2 separate regions of the Homo sapiens genome follow, and region 1 is linked to region 2. The links are contacts of gene promoters, found by promoter capture Hi-C in human tissues and cell types (Jung and others, 2019). All regions are on one chromosome and are shown on one strand. Each heading gives the region's core, a stretch centred on a gene start or on the middle of the fragment in contact. The rest is flanking DNA. Distances are from core to core; before and after follow the strand shown. Region 1 has its middle 50 kb from the start of PDLIM5. Region 2 holds the start of HPGDS (hematopoietic prostaglandin D synthase).

Evidence for each region. Contacts are between HindIII fragments. The study calls those that stand out against the background at their distance.
Region 1: a contact is called between a fragment that was not itself captured here and the fragment with the promoter of HPGDS in region 2, in 1 of the 25 tissues and cell types used here (H1 embryonic stem cells).

Annotation. Positions count from the first base shown.
Region 1 is chr4:94,398,186-94,405,209 of GRCh38, reverse strand. No RefSeq gene overlaps it. Among named protein-coding and RNA genes, the nearest start is that of PDLIM5, 50 kb to the left of the region's middle. The HindIII fragment of the contact is 7,601 bases long and covers 605-7,024 here.
Region 2 is chr4:94,339,419-94,345,968 of GRCh38, reverse strand. It overlaps HPGDS (hematopoietic prostaglandin D synthase), which reads left to right and starts at 3,133. Exons shown (of 6, transcript NM_014485.3): 1 at 3,133-3,174. The HindIII fragment of the contact is 13,227 bases long and covers 1-6,550 here.

The DNA of each region.
Region 1 (7,024 bases), core at 3,156-5,655, 58 kb before region 2:
TACCCTGGTCAGACACATGTGAAATACTCTTCTCTATTATGGGCATCAGAGTTTAATGATATCGACAAACTACATAGTATTCAGCAGCAGGAAATGTGGGAAGCCATATGAAGAATACTTAAACTGGGGAAATTACTTCTAAAATACGAAAGATGTAGTGCTGTTTTAGCTCTTTTCAAATATATGAAAGACTGTGCTGTAAAGGGAAAGGGGATGTGGGAGGAAAGAGGTATTGAGTCTAAATCTATCGTTTTAAAGTTTCATTATTTTCTATGTGTAATTTGTCTTGAATTTGTTCCTTTCCATTCCTCTCATGTAATATGTTTCATGTATTTGTCCCAGTCCCCCTATTTTCAATGTTTGTACTTTAATTTGGATTATTGTATTAAATGTATATCTGGTTTTTACTGCTCATCCCTGCCCTCATCCAGCTTTAATTCTGATACTAAATGATTCATCCTAAAATATTCTTGATATCATGAAAGTATAATTTGAATTTACGTCTGACGTTAAAATGTCCTCATTCATAATTTATGCTGATTTTACTTATTTAGTCTTATTTTCTAGAATTCCCGGTGGGCTATCTACTATACTTAAGTTTGTTCCTTCACTATCCCACACCTGTCATGTTCTTTGTCATCTGTGCCTTTTCTCAGGTTGTATCCCTTAACTACTCACTTCTAAACCTCTGTCCAGAGATTCCTCTTAATGCATCAAATTCCTGTCTATTCTTGGAGAGCCATTACATGCCATTCTTTCCTTTAGGCCCTTCGTAAACTATTATAGCCATAATAATTTTGTCTCATAATTCCTATAGCCTATTTTGATTATACCATAATTTTTAATACTTGATTTTTTAGTAAGATGTGGCTACAAAATAATACCTATTCCATGACATTGCTCATCGATCTCATTCTAGTCAAATGTTATACTTTTAGAGTATTTTGTTGCACTAATGGCCACGATTTGTCCAAGCCTCCTTGTATCCATGACCTTGGATAGATCCTCCTATAATGACTCTGGACCCAGCCATTTGACGTAATTTGGCCAAAGAGACAATAATCAAATGTGATACCAAAAAACCTGAAAAGTGTTATGCACTGGGGCTTGCCTTGTCTTGCTTCTTGTGAGAACCCTAAGACACTTAAATGAAAAAGTTGATGAAAACATGTAGCCCAGCCATCTCTGTCTCCCAGTTCAGGGCCAATACTAACCAAGAGCCAGCACCAATTGCAAGACACATGAGTGTGGCTGTCCTAAGAACCACTAACCCCCAGCCAACCCAACCAGCAGATGCAGCTGAATGTCTGAGCCCAGGAAAGACCAGCAGAAGAACTGGCCAACTGACATTGCCAGCTGGCATTGCTAACTCACAGAATTGCTAGCCAGAAATATAAATGTTGTTTTTTTCTGTCTAGCAATTTAAAACTGAGGACAGTTTAAGAGTGGCTTATTTTGCTGCAAAATATAACTAATGTAAGGGTTATTTATTAGCCAGTTTTTACTGGGGTATTAGATTTGCTTCAGCTTCTATACTGTGTGTAATTTTAGGACAAGAACCATGACATCTTTTCTAAAATTTCAAGATTTTAGACAGTGCTAGGTTCATAACTGATATTTGATAAATAATAATTTTAATATTGTTTTCTTGGTACCATGAGGATGAGATTAACAATCTTTACACACAATATCACCTGAATTTTCTTTTCTTTTCTTTCTTTCTTTTTTTTTTTTTTTGAGACAGGGTCTCACTCTATTGCCCAGGCTGGAGTGCAGTGGCATGATCTCAGCTCACTGTAACCTCCGCCTCCCGGGCTCAAGCGATTCTGCCACCTCAGCCTCCTGAGTAGCTGGGACCACAGGCACACACTACAACACCTGGCTAGTTATTTTTATTTTTATCTGTAGAGATGGGGTTTCACTATGTTGCCCAGGCTGGTCTTAAACTCCTGAGCCTAAGTTATCTGCCCACTCCCAAAGTGCTGGGATTATAGGTGTGAGCCACTATGCCTGGCCATCACCTGCATTTTCTAATTTTAGGTAAGATAAATCTTTTTGAAGAGGTCAAAGGACATGAACAGATACTTTTCAAAAGAAAACATATAATGTGGCCAACAAGCATATGAAAAAAAGCTCAATATCACTGATCATTAGGGAATTGCAAATCAAAACCACAATGAAATACCATCTCACACCAGTCAGGATGGCTATTACTAAAAAGTCATAACAAAATAACAGATGCTGGCAAAGTTGCAGAGAAAAGGAGATGCTTATACACTATTGGCGAAAGTGTAGATTAGTTCAACCATTGTAGGAAGCAGCGTGGCAATTCCTCAAAGAGCTAAAAACAGAACTGCTGTTCAACCCAGCAATCTCATTACTGGGTATGTACCCAAAGGATATTAATTGTTCCACCAAAAAGATGCATGCACGGGTATGTTCATTGCAGCACTATTCACAATAGAAAAGACATGGTATCAACCTAAATGCCCATCAATGGCAGATTTGCTCATGAAAACGTGGTACATATACAGCACGGAATACTATGCAGCCATAAAAAAGAACAAGATCATGTCCTTTGTAGGAACATGGATGGAGCTGGAGGACATTATCTTTAGCAAACTAATGCAGGAACAGAAAACTAAATACCGCATGTTCTCACTTATAAGTGGTAGCTAAAAGTTGGGAACACATGGACACAAAGAGGGAAACAACAGATACTGAGGCCTACTTAAGGATGGAGGGTGGGAGGAGGGAGAGGAGCAGAAAAAATAATTATTGGGTACTCGACTTAGTACGTGATGAAATAATCTGTACAATAAACCCCCATGACATGAGTTTGACTATCTAACAAACATCTACATGTACCTCTGAACATAAAATATAAGTTTTAAAAAAGAAAAGCCAAAAACAACAAAAAAAGATAATTTATTTTTCTTTAAAAAGATATGGAATTCATGATATGCATATACTGGATTGGACCTCCAATTTTTAAGAAGTTTCCGTAAAGAACAATACTGAGGCAATTGGCAAGATCTGAATGTGGGATGCATATTAGATAATAGTAATTCATCAATGTCAAATTTCTTGAATTTTGTAATTATACCATGATGCCGTAAAAGAAAGATTCAACAAGATACCATACTAAATTTACTACTAAGTGCACATATATGTACATATACATACATATATATGGAGAGGGGAAAGAGAAAGAACAGTTACAATGAAATGCTAAGAATTTGGTGAATCTTAAGTAAAAGGTAAAAGATGAGTTGTACCATTCTTGTACCTTTTCAGCACATTTGGAATTTTTATTTAAAAGAAAAAGAAAAAAAAAGGTAAGAGCCACTACTCACCAATTTAAGCATTTCATTTATAAAAGATCTAGGTCACTGTTGTTCAAAATGAAAGGTCTATTGGACATCAAGAATGAGTTGCCAGTTACTCCATCAACTCCACTGTCATCATTCATTATCCGAAAGCATTTACTCTTCAGTCCACTGTGGAGTATTAGGGAGGAAAAAGCAAGGAAGTGTTCAGTGAGGGCTGTAGACTGAGTGGCCAGCAATGAATGTGGGAATCTTTAGGCTTATCAGATTTTCTAACACATGCAAAATTTATAAGTAGATTCTAAGAATAAATGATTTCCAATATTATTCTTAGAAATAATGTAGTGTTAGGCCACTTGCAGTGGCTCATGCCTGTAATCTCACCACTTTGGGAGGCCAAGGTGGGCAGATCACTTGAGTTCAGGAATCTGAGACCAGCTTGGGCAATATGGCAAAACCCCATCTCTGTGAAATATACAAAATTTAGCTGGGCGTTGTGGCGCGGTGCCTATGGGGCTGAGGTGGGAGGATCTTGTGGTGAGCTGAGATTGAGCCACTGCACTCCAGCCTGGATGACAGAATGAGACTCTGTCTCAAACAATAGTGTAGTATTGACCTACTCTTCTGCTCTAAAATGAGGTCTCACTGCAGTGGAGAGCTATCTACTTGGCAATTAGTAAGTGATAACAGATGAGGGAAATGGTGCTGCAATTTTTTTCCCCTGGGGTAGGAGAAGCAAAATTTAAACTTAAACCATTCAGTTATCTCCTTTGTTACCAGCACTTTTCTCTGCTGACTGAGCTTTGGGATCATCTGGAATATAGCGTAGTGACCCCACTTAAAACTTATCTGACATTCTCTGACTTCATTACCATTGTATTTGTGTACAAATAAGAAAACACCATTTTCTGGAAAAACTCTGGAATGCTACAGACTAATTTGAGATATTTACTATTTCAAGAGAAACATTTTCTTTTTTACAGGAACTTTATACAAGCTGTTAAAGATACTATTTTATTAAAACAGACAACGAAAACAAGCAAAACAATCTGAAATTAGGCAAATGCTCAGTTTCAAATGCCATAAGAAGATGAATGGTTATGTTAGGTGTTTTAGGAATTGATTTAAACATCTTTTTCAAAGTATTGATTTTAGTAGGAAGTACAGATTTAAAGGATGAATTAATTTTGTGTATATGATAGAGACTGGACTCAGAGATAGTAGTCTCTTTCCTAGATAGATATTCTTAAATATAAAAATTGAATTCAAAGTTAGAAATATTAAGCTTCACTGCAGTTGACACAATTTGAGGGGAAAAGGGATAAATATATAGCCCAGTAATAAAATTATTGGTTAAATAAAGGTCAGGGAGAGAAAATTCTAGTTAAAATGGTACTTTCTTTAAAAGTATGCTATGCTTTCAGTTGCTGATGCAAACTGTAGCCAGATAAGATAAAACCTTCCTGTTCGTTTTCTATCTACGCCTTGTGTTGAACGCAAAGGCAAACAAAAGGCTTTGAAAATGCTGTAATCATTACTCAACATCAGTTATCAAAATCATAATCAGAACACACTTGCATGAAAACTCTCTTAACATAGACAAGTCCAAAGTATGTAGCTCTAATAAGAATAAGCTATGATTAAGTATACAAAGAAAACTCTCTTAAGAAAAAAATAATGTTTCCCATTTTGATTTAAAAAATATTTACCCTGTAACTGGAACTGGGGTAGGGGAGGAAAATGTTTCTCTTGAAATGCTAAAAAATTTAATTTCTTATATGATTTTGCAGTTTTCCCCCTTGTATAAATAAGAGAATGAAATTGCAATGCTTGTTATTTTAATGTAGATCTTACTCCTTCCAGGGGCCCACACACTTAACTGTCCCTGGTTCAATTTTATTCCTTAGCACTTCATACAGTTGCTGGTTGGAAGTAATGAGGTAAGTCCTGGCTTCTTCCTATTTATAGAACTGAGGCGATGACCAGAAATGACAGATGGGGCTTATGTCAGTTAGCATTTAAATTCAGTTCTGAAGCTCCAGGCCAAGAATGAGGAGTGGGCTCTTTATTAACTTTCCTATTTACTTTGTTAATCAGTTTATATTAATCAACTATATATGTACTTAGAACTGGCAAAGGCAAATTATCTTCTCTTACTTACTAAATAAGAACTTCTAAATAATTGCAAACCTCAAAATAAGTGAAGTTTAGTATATTCTTGTGGTTATTCAGGGAACTTCCCTCCTACCCCCGATGCAGCCTCAATCATTAATGATTTAATTTTAACATTTTATAATTACATAAGAAGAAAGAGACTAGACATGGTGGTGCACACCTGTAATCCTAGCTACTTGAGAGGTTGAGATAGGGAGCACAGGAGTTTGAGGCTATAATGCCCTATGATCATACCTGTGAATAGCACTGCACTCCAGCCTGGGCAACGTAGCAAGACCCCATCTCTGAAATGTTGGGTTTTTTTAGTCTTAAAAATTAAAAAGAAAAGAAGAGGTAATTTATTGTCCTGTCTGAATTTGTTCACCTATTAGCAGGCTTAGAATGCCATCCTTTAAGTGAATGAATATAGATTCTTTCATTTCAATTGATTATATGTTTTTAAAAGGTCATGCTGATCTCTGAATTGTACCGTTCATTCATTCATTCATATAACAAATATTTATTATGTGCCATGTGCCAGGCATTTACTAGAGAAGTTACAGTAAAAAAGACACAATCCTGACCCGACGCAGCATTTTACATCTTATATAGGCTACAAACGAGTGTATAGATAGTTACAATAAGCCCAGTACAGGAGTATAACCAGTTTTAGGAGGAGATTAAGTACAAGGTGCTATGGAAGCATATAAAAGAGACATACAATTCAATCTTTTGGCCCAGGAAACTTTCAAGTGAAAGTAATATCTGAGCTAAGAACTGAAGGATAAGTAGGAGTTACAAGTTCAAGATCAGAAATGGAGGAGGGAAGAGGGGGCAAAAGAAAGGTGGAAAATATTTTGGGCAGAGAGACATGAGCATAAACAAGACCCCAAAGGTTAGAGAAAGCATGATGTGAGCCTAGAGACTGGGGTAATGTGAGAAGAGGTGAGGTTGGAGATGTCAAGTATTGAAGGCAATGCTCATCCTCACTAGGATTTGTAACTTTACCCTGGGAACCATGAGGAGTCACTGTCGATTTCTAAGTAGGGGGCAGATGTATAAAAATCACTCTGTCTGCCTTTGGAAATCATCAGAGCAGGGATATACTGATAGGTATATAATTAAGAAGCTATGGCAAGGATCCCAGAAGGAATGCCGGAGATTTAAATCAAGAGATTGAGAGAAGTTGACAGACTTGAGAGAGATTTAGAAAGTGAACCCTAAAAGACTTGGTAGTTACTGGGGAAAGAGAGAGAGAGAAGAGTGAAAGACGATGCTGAAATTCCTTCCAGGCCAACTAGTGGATGGTGGCAATATTTATTTTGCATATGTGGATACGGCGCACTAGAGAGAAATTCATATTCCAGAAAAGGATCTGAAAGTCATCAGCGTACAGACTGTAATTAAAATCCTGAGCATGAATAAAACCATCCAGATGGCCGGGCATGGTAGCTTAAGCCTGTAATCCCAGAACTTTGGGAGGCCAAGGTGGGCAGATCACTTGAGGTCAGGAGTTCGAGACCAACCTGGCCAACAAGGTA
Region 2 (6,550 bases), core at 1,884-4,383:
AGTCCCAGAGCTTGCAAATAATGGAGTGGAGATTCCTCTAAGAGGTCATGATTCCAGGATGAAACTCTTTAATCACTATCTTGTATAGTCACATTACTACACAGGTGGGCAAATAAAGAAAACAAGGACAGAAATGGACTATGATTTAACGTTGGATTTTTAACAGCAGTTAGGAATTTGCTAATTCAATACCACAGGATTAAAAGTTTTCCAACTAGGAAGCCCCAGAGAAAATGAAGACATATTTATTAAATTATAATAGGCCTTTAAATGACTGTGTGGACATGATCATACAACTTGACACGTTTTTTCACGGGTATTTCTCATGCAGTCCAGTCTGGATCCACAACATGCTCCTGAAGGGTGTGTGGCATGAAGAAGTCACTGCCCTGGAGAGCAGGGAACTGAGAGGTAACAATCCATGAGGGGTTTTCACTTTGCCCTTGCCCTTTTCCTCCTCCCTATTCCAGTAGACACTTGGCTCCGTGCTCATTTCCTCAGAAGAGGATGAAGCAGGGTGAAAAATGAAAGTTGCCTGACAGCTACTTCTCTTTCTGCTGTTAGTGCCCAAACCCAACCACAGAAAAGGAAAGAATTCTTGAGCATAGATTCTTGAAGGGAAACGATTTTCCCTTCAGGTGAACTGCTAATAATATTAACAATTGCTCTCACTCATGGATCCCTAACTATGCATTAGGCACACTTTGAAGCACATATCTGTGTACTCATTTAATTCTGTAAAAGCTTATGAGAGAGTTATTACTAATATTGTTAGAATGCTCCATGAAGATTTGTTTTTGTCTGATTTTATTTAGTGCTATATCTCTATTTATTTACTTATTTATTTTTGAGATGGAGTCTCGCTCTGTCGCCAGGCTGGAGTGTAGTGGCACGCTCTCGGCTCACTGCAATCTCTGCCTCCCGGGTTCAAGCGATTCTCCTGCCTCACACTCCCGCGTAGCTGGGATTACAGGCGTGGGCCACCACACCTGGCTGATTTTTGTATTTTTAGTAGAGATGGAGTTTCACCATGTTGACCAGGATGGTCTCCATCTCCTGACCTTGTGATCCACCTGCCTCGGCCTCCCAAAGTGCTGGGATTACAGGAGTGAGCCACCGCGCCCAGCCTTATTTACTGCTATATCTCTAGCGTTCAGAACAATACCTGGCAAAGATTAGGAACAAATAAATATTTATTGTAGAATCAATCTCCATCTAAAGGTGAAGGAGCTCAGGCACAGAGAGATTAAGTTACCTGCCCAAAGGCCCACAGCTGGTAGAAGACTAGGAGAGTTAGAGCACCCCCACCTGGGCTGGGAGAAGAGACAAGAGGATGGGAAAGCTGTGCTTCCCGAGTAGAGGAGATCTGGGACCCTCTCCTGGGACCCTCTTGTGCCTCCAGGGAGGTAGAAAGACCACAGAGAAGAAGTGGCTCTGTTGGGTACTGGGCAGGTGGAATCTCAGGCAGCGTTGTGATGAAACCACCACACTGGGGCAAGAAGGTAGCAAAATGAGAATGCTACAGGAGCTGCAGAGAGCTCCTGGCGTGGAGGCCATGCACACAAGGACAATGGATGCCTCTAGAGCAGCCTCTGTTGATCGGTGACCAAGGATCAAGTGGCTGCTCCTTCCCCAATCCTTGATGTGTTACTCTGCTTTCCTCCAGCCAAAACAACTGGTCGTAAAAGATAAAATTGTAATACAAAATGAGAAAAGTGTTATTTTTTGTATACTTGATTTTTTTTTAACTGAAGCAGTCTCGTATTATATATAGGCAGCATTATGTAAGGAAAAATATTAAATGTGTCATCAGAAGGCCTAGATTTTAATCCTAGCTTGTCCCAACAAAAATTCGCAGGCAATTTACCTAATTTCCCTATGTCTCAGTTTCCTCATTTATAAAAATAGGGATTAAAAATCATTGAGGTGAGGATAAAAAGATTTTTTTGAAAATATAAGTTAAAGCTGTCAAAGATAATAAATGCATTGTGTTAATTTTGTATAGCTCCCACTCCCATCCCATTTGCACTTGATTTTGACACACATGTATCCTTTTTTGGTGGGTAAAGGGCTACACTTGCGTCTTCTCTTTTTACATACTAGTATTTACATTTATTTTCATTTCTGACGTTTATACTAAGTGGATGTAAACATATTTTTCAAAATTAAAAGCACTTTAGAAATAAGAAATATTAAATGATTGATATGTTGCTATTGTTGCCTGTGGGAGTAATTTTCTGGAAGTTGAAAGCCAGCTGGTCATTGAAATGTTTCATGGATAATCCTCAGGCTCAGTAAGGCCCAGGCAGGCATTTTATTGGATCTTTTCACTGAGCTGTCCTAATATTATAGATAAAAATAATTCCTGCACTAAGAAGTGAAACAATAAATTTCTAAAATGTCAGGCATTTGTTACTAAATTGTAAAAGGATCACAAACAAGATGAATTGGAAACTTCTACACCAGGTTTACTTTAAACACTTTGGCTTTTCTGAGAAATGAGAGTAAATGAAATAAACCAGCAACAATGCAAATTTACAGTCCTTGCAAAAACGTGAACTATAAATTAGGGTTATTCTATCATCAGATGTATATTAGTGGTCATGACATGCCTGGCACTCCTCTTAGAACTGAGGAGACAATAGTGAAAAAGACAGTGAAGTGCCTGCCTTTACAGAGCTTACATTCCACTGGGAGAAACCAAAAACAAACAAGTTAAATACACCACATTGTTAGACACTGCCTCGAAGGAACATACAGCAGGTACAGGAGAGACTGTTTCTAAAATAGAGAAGCAAGTCATGTGCACATCTGCAAAGATGATTTCATTACATTCAGGTTTTCTTATTCTCCAGGAGCCTATGGTGTAAAACTGAAAATAAGTGAACATGTAACAGTGGGCATACATATGCAGCTATAACTTTGACTTTACCTTGTATACAAATGTGTTGGTTTATTTATACCCAGATATCCTGTATAACCAGCAGTCTTCGCAGGCTTGAACTGCCTGGCATGCATGTTTTATCTAAGAAAAGAAGGAAGAGCGTTAGGTAGAAGGAAGTTGCCTGTCCTCTCACTGGCTCGTGATTATCACTTACTCGTCATATAAACCCAAGGCACAGTCACATACCCAGGGATACAAGACACTGCAGACTCCCGAGAGACATAACACAGGTAAGTCATATTACTGAACTCCACATAGGTAATAAATGAGATATGCTTTACTCTTTACTTCAGAGTTTTTATTATTCTCATATCCTGTTTGTGACTAACTGTCTTGTGAGCTATTTTCATGATGGTGCTCACTCTGACCTTGTCTTACCCAGAACCTCTCCATATATGCGAATATGTGAAACTCAAATAGTCATTTTTAAGGAAATATAGGTACAGGAGATTTAAGAAGATCTCTTCAAGTGGATTTTAACATAGAAAATATAATCAATGCTAGAGGAAAAATCCTGTCTTAATCAGGGTTTGTTACTACTTCCAGAATTTTCCCAAGTGATTCTTCAATAACTTGGATTGATGGAGTAGAGAATATTATCTCATGGCTGTTCAATTTCTTTCCTTTGCTTTAAAGTTTAAGACTTTTACTGGTAATATTTTATATTATTTTAAGGCACATTTTGTTGAAGCATCTCCATGTTTTGATAAGAATTGCAACCTATCATCTTTTGGCTTCAGAGATGGTTTAAGGGATTTACCCCAGGCCAGGAATTTCAACTCACAGCTCCCAAAGGATATTTCAGTTATTCCTCTTGCTTTGGCTTTAATGTGAAACAGTCACTTAAAATGACATTTAGTTGATATTTGATAAAAAAAAAAAAAATAGAGCTTTCAGCTTGCTAATTCAAAGTTAAACATCCAGTGCTTGATTGAAATCAATATCTTACTCAGTCAACAACAATTCTTCTATTTCTCTATTGTCCTATAATTTAACTCCAACCTGGCAACTTTTCCAGAATTGAACTTGAAATGCCCAGGGACACTGTGAAATGAGGGAAATTAACATTCTTTACCATCAAATGTTAGGGGTAATAAAAAGCTGTTTTAATGTCAGTATATGCAAGAAGTTCCCCTGTGAACAATAGTATCTCACATGATTGCTGTCTGAATCCAATTTTTACATTTCAGAACACCAGGGTCTATATAATAGGAGTGTAAACATGCTCTAGGCCATTACATTTTGTATAAGTTTATTACTGGGCAAGTTAAGATCTGCATCTTAAACTCAAAGAAGAGCTATAGCAAATTCACAAGTAATCTTTGTTTTTATATCTCTAACTCAGATTATTGCGCAATTACTAAGCATGTAAAAAACTGTGTCTGGAATGCCCAAATATGTTTGAATTCTTGATGTGTCGTATTTAAGAGTAAGAGCTTACGTTGGCTAACATTTTGTATTGAACTGTAGAATGGTCAATACTTAATTCCTCATTTGTAAGTTTTCTATCTAACAAAATTATTCCAAAAGTTCTCTTTTTTGAACTAAAAATATTTCGGCTGAAGTCTTTATTAAGATGTTTAGTATAGGCATTGGATATTGATTAGCCTGTGTTGTCAGAGAGTTGAAATTGGATTGTTGTCATCTTTCTGGCACAGAGACTAGAATTTTTGAGACTATTTTTTACTGTGCTTTTACAGCAGTATACGGAATAATATATTGTTAAATTGTTTTATTATAAAAGTTTGTAATTTTTTCAATGATTATGTTAAAATTGCCTCTGGGATTGAATTAATCAGATGAAATAAATCAGCATTGTATTAGTTAGTTTTCACGCTGCTGATTAAGACATACCTGAGACTGGGTAATTTATAAAGAAAAAAAAGTTTGGCCGGGCGAGGTGGCTCAGCCTGTAATCCCAACATTTTGGGAGGCCGAGGCTGGCGGATCACCTGAGGTTAGGAGGTCCTGGCCAACATGGCGAAACCACGTCTCTACTAAAAATACAAAAATTAGCTGGGCGCGGTGGTGGGCGTCTGTAATCCCAGCTACTGGGGAGGCTGAGGCAGGGAGAATCGCTTGAACCCGGGAGGCGGATGCTGCAGTGAGCCGAGATTGCGCCACTGCACTCCAGCCTGGGCGACAGAGCAAGACTCCGTCTCAAAAAAAAAAAAAGAAAGAAAAAAAAAAAGAAAAAAATTTGCCGGGCGTGGTGGTTGGTGCCTGTAATCCCAGCTACTCTGGTGGCTGCGGCAGGAGAATCGCTTGAACCCGGGAGGCAGAGGCTGCGGTGAGACGAGATCACGCCATTGCACTCCAGGCTGGGCGACAAGAGTAAAACTCCGTCTCAAAAAAAAAAAAAAAAAAAAAAAAAGGGAGGGGGGCGGGCCGGGCCCGGTGGCTCACCCCTGTAAACCCAGCACTTTGGGAGGCTGAGGCAGGCGGATCACGAGGTCAGGAGATCGAGACCACCCCGGCTAACACGGGGAAACCCCATCTCTATTAAATATACAAAAAAATTAGCTGGGCGTGGTGGCGCGTGCCTGTAGTCCCAGCTACTCGGGAAGCTGAGGCAGGAGAATGGCGTGAACCCGGGAGGTGGAGCTTGCAGTGAGTGGAGATCACGCCACTGCACTCCAGCCTGGGCGACAGAGAGAGACTCCGTCTCAAAAAAAAAAAAAAAAAAAAAAAAAAAAAAAAAAAAAAAAAAAAAGAGAAAGAAAGAAAGAAAGAAAGAAAGAAAGAAAGAAAGAAAGAAAGAAAGGTTTAGACCAGGCACAGTGGCTCACACCTGTAATCCCAGCACTTTGGGAGGCCCAGGCAGGCGGATCACAAGGTCAGATGATCGAGACCATCCTGGCCAACATGGTGAAACCCCATCTCCACTAAAAAATAAAATACAAAAATTAGCTGTATGTGGTGGCGCACACCTATAATCCTAGCTACTTGGGAGACTGAGGCAGGATAATCGCTTGAACCCAGGAGGCGGAGATTTCAGTGAGCCCAGATTGCGCCACTGCACTGCAGTTCCACATGGCTGGGGAGACCTCACCATCATAGCGGAAGAGGAAGGGATGTCTTACATGGCAGCAGGCAAGACAGAACCAGAGCCAAGTTAAAGGGGAAATCCCTTATAAAATGATCAGATCTCGTGAGACTTATTTACTACCATGAAGTCAGTATGGGGGAAACCGCCCCCATGATTCAATTATCTCCCACCGGGTCCCTCCCATGACAAGTGGGAATTATGGGAGCTACAATTCAAGATGAGATTCTGGTGGGGATATAGCCAAACCATAACAAGCATTCTATAAAGTAAAAAAAAGCTACAAGAAAGAAAGAGAAAGAAAGGAAGTACCCAAGATAGTACTTTAAAAACACTGTTATTTCCCATATAAAAGAGCTTATTTCCTAATGCATATATTAATATTAAAAGTTAAATCTTCTGCAGTGGATAGCTATGTTCATATGAGTTTATATGTCTAAGTTTTTATCCAGGGTATTTATTAGTCGTTTATGTGTTCTTTGATAAACCGTATAGGTTATTTTTCAAACAGAATTCTAAATGAGCTTTTTATCTATCTGCTGAATTAGTAACTTTACACG